Regions from separate parts of the Homo sapiens genome. Here region 2 is linked to region 1. Evidence: promoter capture Hi-C in 16 types of primary human blood cells and fetal thymus (Javierre and others, 2016). All regions are on one chromosome and are shown on one strand. Each heading gives the region's core, a stretch centred on a gene start or on the middle of the fragment in contact. The rest is flanking DNA. Distances are from core to core; before and after follow the strand shown. Region 1 holds the start of SAAL1 (serum amyloid A like 1). Region 2 overlaps UEVLD (UEV and lactate/malate dehyrogenase domains).

Evidence for each region. The method cuts DNA at HindIII sites, captures the fragments that hold promoters and counts their contacts. A CHiCAGO score of 5 or more calls a contact.
Region 2: a contact is called between a fragment that was not itself captured here and the fragment with the promoter of SAAL1 in region 1, in 1 of 17 cell types (total B cells). The highest score is 5.3, in total B cells.

What each region holds. Positions count from the first base shown.
Region 1 is chr11:18,102,327-18,108,137 of GRCh38, forward strand. SAAL1 (serum amyloid A like 1) reads right to left here and starts at 3,756. Exons shown (of 12, transcript NM_138421.3): 1 at 3,581-3,756; 2 at 907-1,020. The coding sequence starts at 3,715. It also overlaps the pseudogene HIGD1AP5. RefSeq lists enhancers at 3,502-3,761, 3,912-3,961. The HindIII fragment of the contact is 5,763 bases long and covers 2,112-5,811 here.
Region 2 is chr11:18,560,422-18,566,602 of GRCh38, forward strand. UEVLD (UEV and lactate/malate dehyrogenase domains) reads right to left here. Exons shown (of 12, transcript NM_001040697.4): 5 at 5,926-6,061; 6 at 4,471-4,589. Among named protein-coding and RNA genes, the nearest start is that of UEVLD, 25 kb to the right of the region's middle. The HindIII fragment of the contact is 339 bases long and covers 3,977-4,315 here.

The DNA.
Region 1 (5,811 bases), core at 2,506-5,005:
TCGAGGCGGAGATTGCAGTGAGCTGAGATCGCACCACTGTACTCCAGCCTAGGTGATAGAGACTCCATCTCAAAAAAAAAAAAAAAATCAATGTCAATGATACTTCAAAACAATATGCAGTTTTTTGGTGTTAATTATACCTCAATAAAGTTTTAAATAAAATGACTGAAACAATGAATAGCCATTGACAATTTTTAAGAAAATGAGTACAATTAAGTCTGTATTTCCGGAAAAAAAGGTAACACGGGTGGCAATGTAGAGGACAGAAGGGAGGTGAAAGAGACTAAAACAAGGATTTTAATCAGGAAGCTATTGCTAAAGTCCAGGTAATAAAACAAGAAAGATTACATAGGTCATTTAATGTCTTTTGGCCTCTATTTTCTTAACTGTAAAATAAGGGTACTACCTACATCACAGGGTTATTGTGAAGATCAAATAGAATACTATATATGAAAATGCTTTTGAGCTATAGAATAAAATACAGATATTAAAACACTATGATTAATACTGCAATTACAGACATATAATTATTTATTGTCCTTTCCTTCTAATATTATCATGGTATATCAGTGGTCTTCTAACTCCTAACCTGCTGTCAAATATATGGCCAGAGCTCTCTTTAGGTAGGTAAGTATCAGAACTTTCCCGGCCTACATGTGTATAGGAATACATTCATAAGAGCTACGTATTTAGTCCGAATCTGTTGAGAGCTCAAATCCTCCAGCCTCAAAGACAGAAGTTTAGCATTTATAGCCCCTGGGATCTCATTCCCTATATCATATATGGGTGTGATTACAGACAGGAGATAAAGCCTTTCCCCAGAGTGAAGGACTGAACCGTTTTTAAAACATTCATTCACCATCTCCTCACCCAACAGTCTTCAGAGTTTTGTTTCCAGCCTCATACCTCATCCATTGACATATCCCATACTCTGCAAATTTCATTCTCCATTTCTTCATCAAGCTCCGTCAGCTGCTCCTCATCATCTGAGCTAGATTTGGTGTTTTCAGGGCTAACAATCTTCAGAAACACAAAGAAAGAAAACATGAATAAAAGTTGTCTACAATACTAACCAGGTACCCAAATACAGCAGGTGATCAAATAACATTTCCTCGTAACGCTGATGAGAAAAAAATTTGATTCCTGGCCAGGGCCACTGTCTGTGTGGAGTTTGCATGTTCTCCCCAAGAGTGCATGAGTCTGTTCCAGGTACTTTAGTTTCCTCCTACATCCCCCAAATTTGCACATTAGCACAACGGGTATCTAAATGGTCCCAATCTGAGTGAGTGTGGGTGTGTGTGTACCTGTGATGGGATGGCATCCTGTCCAGGGCTGGTTTCTGCCTTGCACCTTGAACTGCTGGTACAGGCTCCAGCCACCCTCAACCCTGAACCAGAGCAAGTGGGTTGGGAAATGGATGAATACAAATTATTATAAAACAAAAATCTGTAAAGAAGACAATAACCATAGAGATGCGTGACAATAATTATGTGGTAGGAAAGTGCTCAGTAAGCCTGCCTTATTTGTTATTGTTTTTGGACTGTACAGTAGTAAGAGGTGATCATTTTTGCTTTGTAAACATTTATTCCTTGATTTAACACAATCAAAGAATAAAGGTTGTAGTGATAATCACTACAACCACCATCACTCACTAACTCACCAAAACTGGGTGAATAATTATCTTGTTTTTATTAACCTTTCCTAAACGTATTATAGCTCACATTTATCTCAATGTTTAATATTAGAAGTGTTTTAGGTCCTCATTTAGAAGTTTGGTGATGTTCTTGTGTCCAGAAATATGCCACAGGGACTTAACTCTTGTTTATATCAATTAGCTATGGTAAAATTGGTTTCATTATCAGTAATTTTGCTTACAGTCACAATTTCCAAGAACCTACTGATGTTAAGTGAGCACTTACTTTAATATTAACCCATAATCGTTTAGAAGTCACAAAGAGGCTATCAGCAAAGTATCTTCTCTTGCAAAAATCTTCTTTTAAAAATGTAGTACCTTGGGTAGATCTACTCTTTCAACATTCACAAAGTAAATACTGTTGCTAGGCACTGGGGTAGATATACAAAGACAAGTAAGATATAATCCCTTACATTTAAGCTTTTTTTTTTTTTTAACTTTTAGGATCTAGTGGGGAAAGACATGTAAAGGGATAGTCATATTAGAAAAGGCAAAGTGATTCAACTGAATTGTGGACAAAGAGTTCTGGTAGCAAAAACGATGGACCAATGACCTATTCCTAGGAGAAGATGGGGAACCTTCCCTTAGGTGCTGATATTTAAGCTAAATTTTAAAGGAAGAATAGTAGTTTGTCATGTGAAGAAGGAGAGAAGTGAGTATTCAGAGGAAAGCACAAGAGTTCAGAGTTAAGAAAGGGCCTAGCATGTTTGGGGATGGTGAACAGTTCAGAGTTGATGGAACACAGTGTATCATGAGAAGATGAGGCTGGAAAATGTACAAACAGCCCTGGATTCCAAACTTCAAGAAACATGCATTTTTCTCCCAGGCAAAAAGAACTAAGAGCAGTATCATGAATAGCCCTGTCTTTAAAGAAGATTATTCTGGCAGCTGTGTAGAAAATTGACTGGAGAGGATAGACAATAGGAGGAGAGGAACCAATTAGGGAAACATGGGGGGAAGAAAACACATTTACTGACAGCCTCCTATAAGCCAAACACCATGCTAAGCACTCTGTTGCCATTATAATCTCACTTAACCTACACAATAACCTTATATATAATATAAATATTATAATCCCATTTTATAGAAATTAAGGGACAAATAGAGGTTCTGAGCCGTTAGGTGACCTGCAGCTAGTGGGTAAGGAAGCTGCGTTTTTTGTTTTTTTGAGACAGGGTCTTACTCCGTCCCCCAGCCTGGAGTGCAGAAGCTGGATCATAGCTCACTGCAGCCTCCAACTTCAGGCTCAAGCGATCCTCCAGCCTCAGCCTCCTGAGTCGCTGGGACTACAGGCGTGCACCGTCACGACCGGCTTTTTTTTTTTTTTTTTTTTAAGTTTGTAGAAACCAGGTCTATGTTGCCCAGGCTGGTCTCAAACTCCTGGCTCAAGCGATCCTTCCGCCTCGGCCTCCCAAAGTGTTGGGATTACAGAGGTGAGCCACCGCGCCTGGTCAGAAGCCACGTTTTTAATATAAAAGTTGTATAACCCTAAAGTCACCATTTATTCTATTACAACGATAGTCCATGAAATACATAAATTAAGGACCTGGGCTTCAGAAATGACAGTGGGGATGGGGAGCAAAACCCGAGGAATGCAGTTACACGATCATGTATTTTTGGAGAACTTGGGAAAGCAAAATAGAACGGCAAGTATTTCAGCATCCCTACCATTATACTTCCCTTTGTGTCGAGAGACCCCGAGGGGGCCCAGATAGTTTTGGGGTCCGCAGCGGCCGGCGAAACGCAAGGAGCAAGGTCCCGCAGCGCACGCCTGGGGAGGGGTCTTTGTGGGGATGGCGGCTCCCGGGGCAGGAGGATTCGCCAGAGGCGGAGCCCCGGTGCCTGGGGGATGTAGGGACACCCCACGCGTGGCGCGAGTTTCCACACCTGGATGAGTCCGCTGAGGACGCCGAAGAGCCAGTGTTTGCTGTAGACCGTGCTCCCTATGCAGTCTCCACCGGCCACCTCCTCCTCCTCCTCCTTGTCGCGACCCGGCGGCGGCGGCGAGGGGTTGCGGTCCATGACTTTGTCGCGTCCCGCGCTTGAAGGCCGTGCCGGAAGCTGCGGAGGAGACGACCGGCGCCCTAGTGCCAGAGCGCCCGGCGTACCCGGTGGGACTCCCCCTACAGCGCCATCTGCTGTTCGGAGCCTGGCCAGCTGCCAAGGCGGCTTGACCTCCCCCACCCCATCCTATCGAGGACCCTGGCACGAACATACTCATAATTATTTGTCACCCTCACTGAATCAGGTGTTCCATTTCTCCAGGAGCTCTTAGACTGATTGAAGAAGGAAGGGTGGGGAGCAGTGAGGAAGCCTCAGGAACAGATGTGAATCTCAAAGCTAGCGGACTTATTCTATTCGCCTTCTGATCTATGTTGCCCAGGCTGGTCTCGAACTTCTGGCTCAAGCAATCCTTCTGCCTCGGCCTCCCAAAGTGTTGGGATTACAAACGTGAGCCACCGCGCCTGGTCAGAAGCCACTTTTTTTATATAAAAGTTGTATAACCCTAATAATATAATCCTCTGATCTCTGGCCACTGTTGCCATTCCTAAAAATATCCGTAGGGGAAGCTGGATGGCTTGTGAGGGATTCCAGGGATCCAAAGTGATTCGAAAAACTAAAGAGGCACCATTTGTCCCCATTGGAATGGCAGGTTTTGCAGTAGTTGCTGCATACGGATTATACAAATTGAAAAGCAGGGGAAATACTAAAATATCACGTCACCTGATCCACATGCGTGTGGCAGTCCAGCTTTGTTGTAGGAGCAATGACTGTTGGTATGGGCTATTCCATGTATCCGGATTTCTATGCAAAACTTAAACCTTAGAAGAAGAGATGTTGTCTTTGTCTTGTTGGAGGAGCTTGACTCATTAATGAGTCATCTCATTATTGAAGTTACATGTTTATGTTGAACATAAATTATTTGGGTAGGTTCAGATGATACTACGGTATTTTGAATAGTCGCTTCCTTTCGTGTAGGCTTGATTTGCCTGGTGACCAAATTATTAGTGACTAGTTCACTAACTAGATCATTCCGGGGAGCCAAGTTAACACACAAGAAACACGTCACCTAAATGCGCTTGATGGTGTTAAAATGTCCAACTTCTTAAACTGTTAAGATGAAATTAATACTAAGGAAGATAGCAGGCCAATCCTGAAGTACTCCCAGTTTGCTGCAGAATCTTGCATGTTTCGAATGTTAAGAGTCCAATTTACTCCAGTTAATTTAACTTTTTTTCTGTCTGTCTTGTGGACTGGTTGGCTCTTTTAGAACTCTTTAAAAAAAAGTGCATGAAATATAACTTGTAAAGCCTCCTACAACTGACAGTATTGTGTGCGTGTGTTTAAACCGAATCTAGAAACCTTACAACAGACCTGCATAGTATTAGTATTGATTAAAGAACCACAATTGTAAACATGAGAAAACCTTAATTATGGATTTCAGTTTAGCACTTTTGTAATTGCAGAATTACATTTTTGCTGCTGTTATATTAGAAGAATTTTTCAGTGTCATCTTGAAATAGAAATGTGTATTTTAAGCACCCATGCAAAGGTAAATGAAAAACACTTCTTTCTCCATAAGAATCGTAAACATTAAACTAAAAAAATTACCTATGATGGAATTGATTTACAAGTACCCACTTTGATTTAATGGAATTAAATTTATAGATGATATAAGCTACTTCCACATGAAATTTCAAAAATATCAATATAATGACCAAACAGGAATGGAGACATGAAATTATTTATTTATTTATTTATTTTATTTATTTTGAGACGGAGTCTCGCTGTCGCCCAGGCTGGAGTGCAGTGGCGCGATCTCGGCTCACTGCAGGCTCCGCCCCTTGGGGTTCCCGTCATTCTCCTGCCTCAGCCTTCAGAGTAGCTGGGACTACAGGCTCCCGCCACCTCGCCCGGCTAATTTTTTTTTTGTATTTTTAGTAGGGACGGGGTTTCACCGTGTTAGCCAGGATGGTCTCGATCTCCTGACCTCGTGATCCGCCCGCCTCGGCCTACCAAAGTGCTGGGATTACAGGCGCGGGCCACCGCGCCCGGCCGAAATTATTTAAAATAAAATGTCCACATGAATATTTTAAATACTCAGTCATAACTATATT
Region 2 (6,181 bases), core at 2,896-5,395, 460 kb after region 1:
GGTATGGGAATAAACTGGTATAATTAATAAAAGATAATTTGACAATTTTCTATCAAAAATTTAAAACATTAACTTCTTGAATCCATCAATTCATTTATAGAAATCATCCTACAAATTTATCAGTACATGTGTAAAAGAGTACAATATTAAGGATATTCATAAGACTAGGAACAACAAAACGTTCATCAGTAACAACGAGACAATATAGTGGTTTATAGCAGAGATTGAAAAAGTTTTAAAATGTCACCATGTAATCAATCCGTGAAGCATATATTATCACCAGGGATTTTATTAAAATGCAGATTTTGGCCGGGCATGGTGGCTCAGCCCTGTAATCTGAGCACTTTGGGAAACCAAGGCAGGTTGGTTGCCTGAGTTCAGGAGTTTGAGAGCCCCGTAGCCAACATGGTGAAACCCTGTCTCTCCCAAAAATACAAAAATTAGCCGGGCCTGGTGGCGCATGCTTGTAGTCCCAGCTACTCGGGAGGCTGAGGCAGGAGAATCTCTTGAAGCCGGGAGGTGGAGGTTGCAGTGAGTGGAGATTGCGCCATTGCACTCCAGCCTGGGACAGAGCGGGACTCCATCTCAAAAAAAAAAAAATGCTGATTTTGTTTCAGTAGGTCTGGGAAGGGTCCTGGATTATGCATTGCTAGCAAGAACTCAGGTGGTACCAATGCTGCTAGTTTGAAAGCCACACTTTGTTTAGTAAGGATCTAGAATACAGGCTCTGATAAACAGATTACCTGGTCTTTAAATTCTCGCTTCATCATTTATTAACAGTGTAATTTGGGGCAACTTGGGTAACCGCCCTATGCCTTTGTTTCTTCATTTGTAAAATGTCAGTAATAACAGTACCTAAACAAAGGGTTGTTGTAAAAATGAGTCAAGTGGGCCAGGCACGGTGGCTCATGCCTGTAATCCCAGCACTTTGGGAGGCTGAGGCTGGTGCATCACCTGAGGTCAGGAGTGAGTTCCAGACCAGCCTACCAACACAGTGAAATCCCATGTCAACTGAAAGTACAAAAATTAACCAGGCATGGTGGCACGTACCTGTAATCCCAGCTACTTGGGAGGCTGAGGTGGGAGAATCGCTTGAACCCGGGAGGCAGAGGTTGTGGTGAGTCAAGGTCACACTACTGGCCAGGCACGGTGGCTCACGCCTGTAATCCCAACACTTTGGGAGGCCGAGGCGGGCAGATTGCCTGAGGTCAGGAGCTCAAGACCAGCCTGGCCAACATGGTGAAACCCCGTCTCTACTAAAAATACAAAAATTACCCAGGTGTGGTGACGGGTGCCTGTAATCTTAGGCTAAGGAAGGAGAATCACTTGAACCCAGGAGGCAGGAGGTTGCAGTGAGCTGAGATCACGCCACTGCAATCCAGCCTGGGGAACAGGGCGAGACTTCGTCTCAAAAAAAAAAAAAAAAAAGTTTGCGCCACTGCACTCCAGCCTGGGTGACTGAGCGAGACTCCATCTCAAGAAAAAAAAAAGAGTCAAGTGTTTAGACAAGTGCCTGGTACCTAATAAGCATTGTGTAAAGGTTAGTTGCTGCTGCTACCACCACTACTTTTGTTGCCACTATTATGAGTACTATCACTGTTGCAGTCATAATAGTGGCCTATGAATATTGTACTTTGTATCAAAATATTAACGTCTAAAAAGAAAAACAGAATTTTTTTTTGAGACAGGGTCTCACTGTGTCGCCCAGGCTAGAGTGCAACTGCACAATCGCAGCTCACTGCAGCCTCAACCTCCCAGGCTCAAGCAATCCTCAGCCACCCAAGTTGCTGGGACTACCAGTGTGCACCACCACACCTAGCTAATTTTTAATTTTTGTAGGGTGGAGGCAGTGGCTGACACCTGTAATCCCAGCACTTTGGGAGGCTGAGGCAGGCAGATCACCTGATGTCAAGAGCTCGAGACCAGCCTGGCCAACATAGCGAAACCCCCTCTCTACTAAAAATACAAAAATTAGCTGGGTGTAGTGGCACACGCCTGTAATCCCAGCTACTCGGGAGGCTGAGGTAGGAGAATCACTTGAACCCGGGAGATGGAGGTTGCAGTGAGCTGAGATCATGCTACTGCACTCCAGCCTGGGAGACACAGCGAGACTCCATCTCCAAAGAAAAAAAAAAAAATTTTTTTTGTAGAAATGGGGATCTCGCTGTGTCGCCCAGGCTGGTCTCAAACTCCTGGGCTCAACTGATTCTCCTGCCTTGGCCTCCCAAAGTGCTGGGAGTACAGGTGTAAGCCACCGGGCCCAGCTGAAAAACGGCAAATTTTCCACCCAGACAATTCACAGACAAATAATGACAGTGAGATTCTTCTAACAGTTTAAAAACATGGCCAGGAGCAGTGACTCATGCCTGTAATCCCAGCACTTTGGGAGGCCAAGGCAGGAAGATAGTCTGAACCAGGAGTTCAAGACCAATCTAGGCAACACAGGGAGACCTATCTCTACAAAAAAACTAAAAATTACCTAGGTGTAGTGGCACACCCCTGTGGTCCCAGCTACTCAGGAGGCTGAGGTGGGAAGATCTCTTAAGCCCAGGAGATAGAGACCGCAGTAAGCCATGATCATACCAGTGCATGCCAACTTGGGCTACAGAGAGAAACCTGGTCTCAAAAACAAAAATGAAAAACCATGACTTTCAGACTTTCAGATGCCTTCTTGTGCTTACCAAAAAAAAAAAAAGACAAATAATTACAAATAAATAAAACTTAGTACTGTTAGGGATGTCAAAAATCAGGTTGATGTGCATGTTATTAGCAGCATAAATTAGTTCTGCCTTTCCAAAGAGCAATCTGGCACTATGTCATAAGTGCTATAAAAACCATTCATGCCCTCTGACTCACTAGTACTATTTTTTAAAATTATGTACAACCAGGCCGGGTGCAGTGGGGCATGCTTGTACTCCCAGCACTTTGGGAGGCTGAGGCAGGAAGATTGCTTGAGCCCAGGAATTCAAGACCAGCCTGGGCAACATGGTGAAACTCTGTCTCTACAAAAAAATACAAGAATTAGTGGGGATGGTTGCTGGCGCCTGTAAGCCCAGCTACTTGGGAGGCTAAGGTGGGAGGATGGCTTGAGCTGGGGAGGTGGAGGGTGCAGTAAGCTGAGATTGCACCACTGCATTCCAGCCTGTGCAACAGAACATGACCCTGTCTAAATAAAATAAAATAATGTATGACCAAATAAAAATTCAGATGAGAAAACAAGCAACTTGAAATGTTTATAGAAGCATTTATTTAGTGACAAAAGACTGAATACAACTCAAATTCTAATTAAGAGGTAATAGCAGGCCAGGTACGGTGGCTCACACTTGTAATCCCAGCACTTTGGGAGGCCAGGGCAGGTGGATCACTTGAGGTCAGAAGTTCGAGACCAGCCTGGCCAACATGGCAAAACCCTGTCTCTGCTAAAAATACAAAAATTAGCTGGGCGTCGTGGCGCATGCCTGTAGTCCCAGCTACTCTGGAGGCTGAGGCAGGAGAATCGCTTGAACCCAGGAGGCGGAGGCTGTAGTGAGCCAAGATTGTACCACTACACTCCAGCCTGGGTAACAGAGCGAGACTCCACCTAAAAAAAAAAAAAAAAAAAAAGAGGTGATAGTGTATTCAAATGGAGGGTGAAAGAAATAAAACTACAGCATGCCAAAAGTTGGCATATTTAACTCTGAGCAGCCAGCTTTTAAGATATTCTAGCTCCATGGATATAATTTAATTATTTGCTGCAGTAGAACCCACCTCCAAGACATATGTGAGTCTTAAATGGAAAGGGAAGAATTTAGATGGCAAAACAATCAAATATATATAGAAAAGAAAAACTAATGCCAGCCACCAAATAAATATATAGAGGTACAGCTATTCTATTCAGGGCTACATCTCTCAAATGACAAAAGACATGCTGTTATCATGATACTAGGCTCTGGAGGGAGGCAGGCAGGTCTTTTGAACCTCTCTGGAAGGGCATTTAAGCTTTCCTGCAAACAATTTATGCAGACACTAGTAAAAAGGACTGATGAAAAAAACAAACCCTAAACTAGTATTAAATATCAACTCAGAAACTGTGATCCTAAAAGAAAGTAATTATGTAAGAAAAGGCCATCTTTAAAAAAAAAAAAGCCAATTTTAGAAAGAGCTAAAATTACTACATTAAATGAGTTTAATTAAAGTGGCATGATTCAGAAAATACAAAAGAATTTGTGATTAAGTCATATGAATGTCAAATTGAGCTTTCCCTTGGATGAGGATAAGCCCATTGTTCAAATCACTTTTTTAAACCTACTAATTAAAAGGCAACATCACTGATGAAAGCTTTCAACTTTTTTGTCAACTTACTAAATATATTTTAAGCCAAAATAAGGTTTTCCCACGACAAAATGAAGGCATTTTTTGGTGTGTAAAACACAACCTGCCTAGAAGTGTGGCACTATGATAGATGTATTTATAACCACTATGTTTACATACCTTTGCTGAAATTGCTAATGTGCAGGCAATACCGAGTTCTCCACCTCCAACCACAGTAATTTTATTGACTGTTTTATTCTCATGATTTGCCCAGCTCTTTGAATTTGTATCTGAAACACCTAGAAAGAAAGGTGAATTATCCTGAGAATTCAAAAATATCAAGAATTTTTTTAGGATCTTTAAAAAAAATATATAGCAGGCTTCATAGCTTAGAGAGAAAATATGGTGCTAGTCCATAATGGGCAAAAAATACTACTGAACAAATGAATGCAAGGAAGGCAGACGTTTCCTATTAAATAGTCGACTAAATAGAAATTATCCTTCTAAAGAGAATGTATCTTTCTAAACATTTTTAAAATATTGTATAAGACTCTAAAAAAGTAGGATTTCCATAATTCTGAAAAATATTCCAACTCATTGCTCTGGTCTACAATAAAAAAATATGTCTAACACCTTACCAAATGTTTCAAACATAGGTATTTGCCTTTATTCTTGATGAGAATCATAGATATTCTGATCCAATATATTGAATAAGCCAACAAGCCACATATACATATCATGAAAAAAAGTTTGGGATCATTAATATACAGCAAGTGGTTTTGAACAAGAATTGTTTTATCTGTTTAAGACCAATTCTTTACACTTTAAGAAACCTGGCCAGGCCCGGTGGCTCATGCCTGTAATCCCTGAACTTTGGGAAGCCAAGGCGGGAGGATCACCTGAGGTCAGGAGTTCAAAACCAGCCTGGCCAACATGGCAAAACCTCATTCTTATCAAAAATACAAAAATTGGCTGGGCATGCCTGTAGTCCCAGCAACATGGGAGGATGAAGCAGGGGAATCGCTTGAACCCAGGAGGCAGAGGTTGCATGAGCCCATATGGTACCACTGCACTCCAGCCTGGGTGACACAGCGAGACTCCATCTCAAAAAAATAAAAAAATAAATAATATTTATTGGAATTACATGGTAATACCCTGTGATAAAGGCAAAGGAATTACTTTTTTTTTCTTTTTTTTTTTTTTTTGAGATGGAGTCTTGCTCTGTTGCCCAGGCTGGAGTGCAGTTGTTCAATCTCAGCTCACTGCAACCTCTGCCTCCCGGATTCAAGCAATTTTCCCACCTCAGCCACCCAAGTAGCTGGGATTACAGGCACCTGCCACCACGCCCAGCTACTTTTTTTATTTTTAGTAGAGATAGGGTTTCACCATGTTGGCCAAGCTGGTCTCCAACTCCTGACCTCAGGTGATCTGCCTGCCTCAGCCTCCCAAAGTCCTGGGATTACAGGAGTGAGCCACTGCGCCTGGCCTGAGGCACAGGAATTTCTTATTTCAAAAACAGATGTACATACGCACACAAATTTATTTATAAAAATCAAGTGGCAGAAAGTAAAGGAGTTTAGTGAGAAACTGGTAACTCATAACTCTCAAGATAATCTGCCTGACAAATATACAAACCTTCAGTGATTTTTGCAATATAGGCTAGCAAGTCTACCTGCCGTGCCTCATCAGATGATGATAGAGAATACATGGGAAGTTCCTCTTGAAACTTGGCAATCATTTCTTTAATTAATCCAACAATGACAGATTTAGGCTGTAGAATACACAAAAAACAGAAAAGTTACACAAAAATTTTGCTGAAGAATACTACCTTTGTTGAGGCAGGAGTATTACTTGAGCCCAGGAGTTTCAGATGCAGTGAGTTATGGTTGCA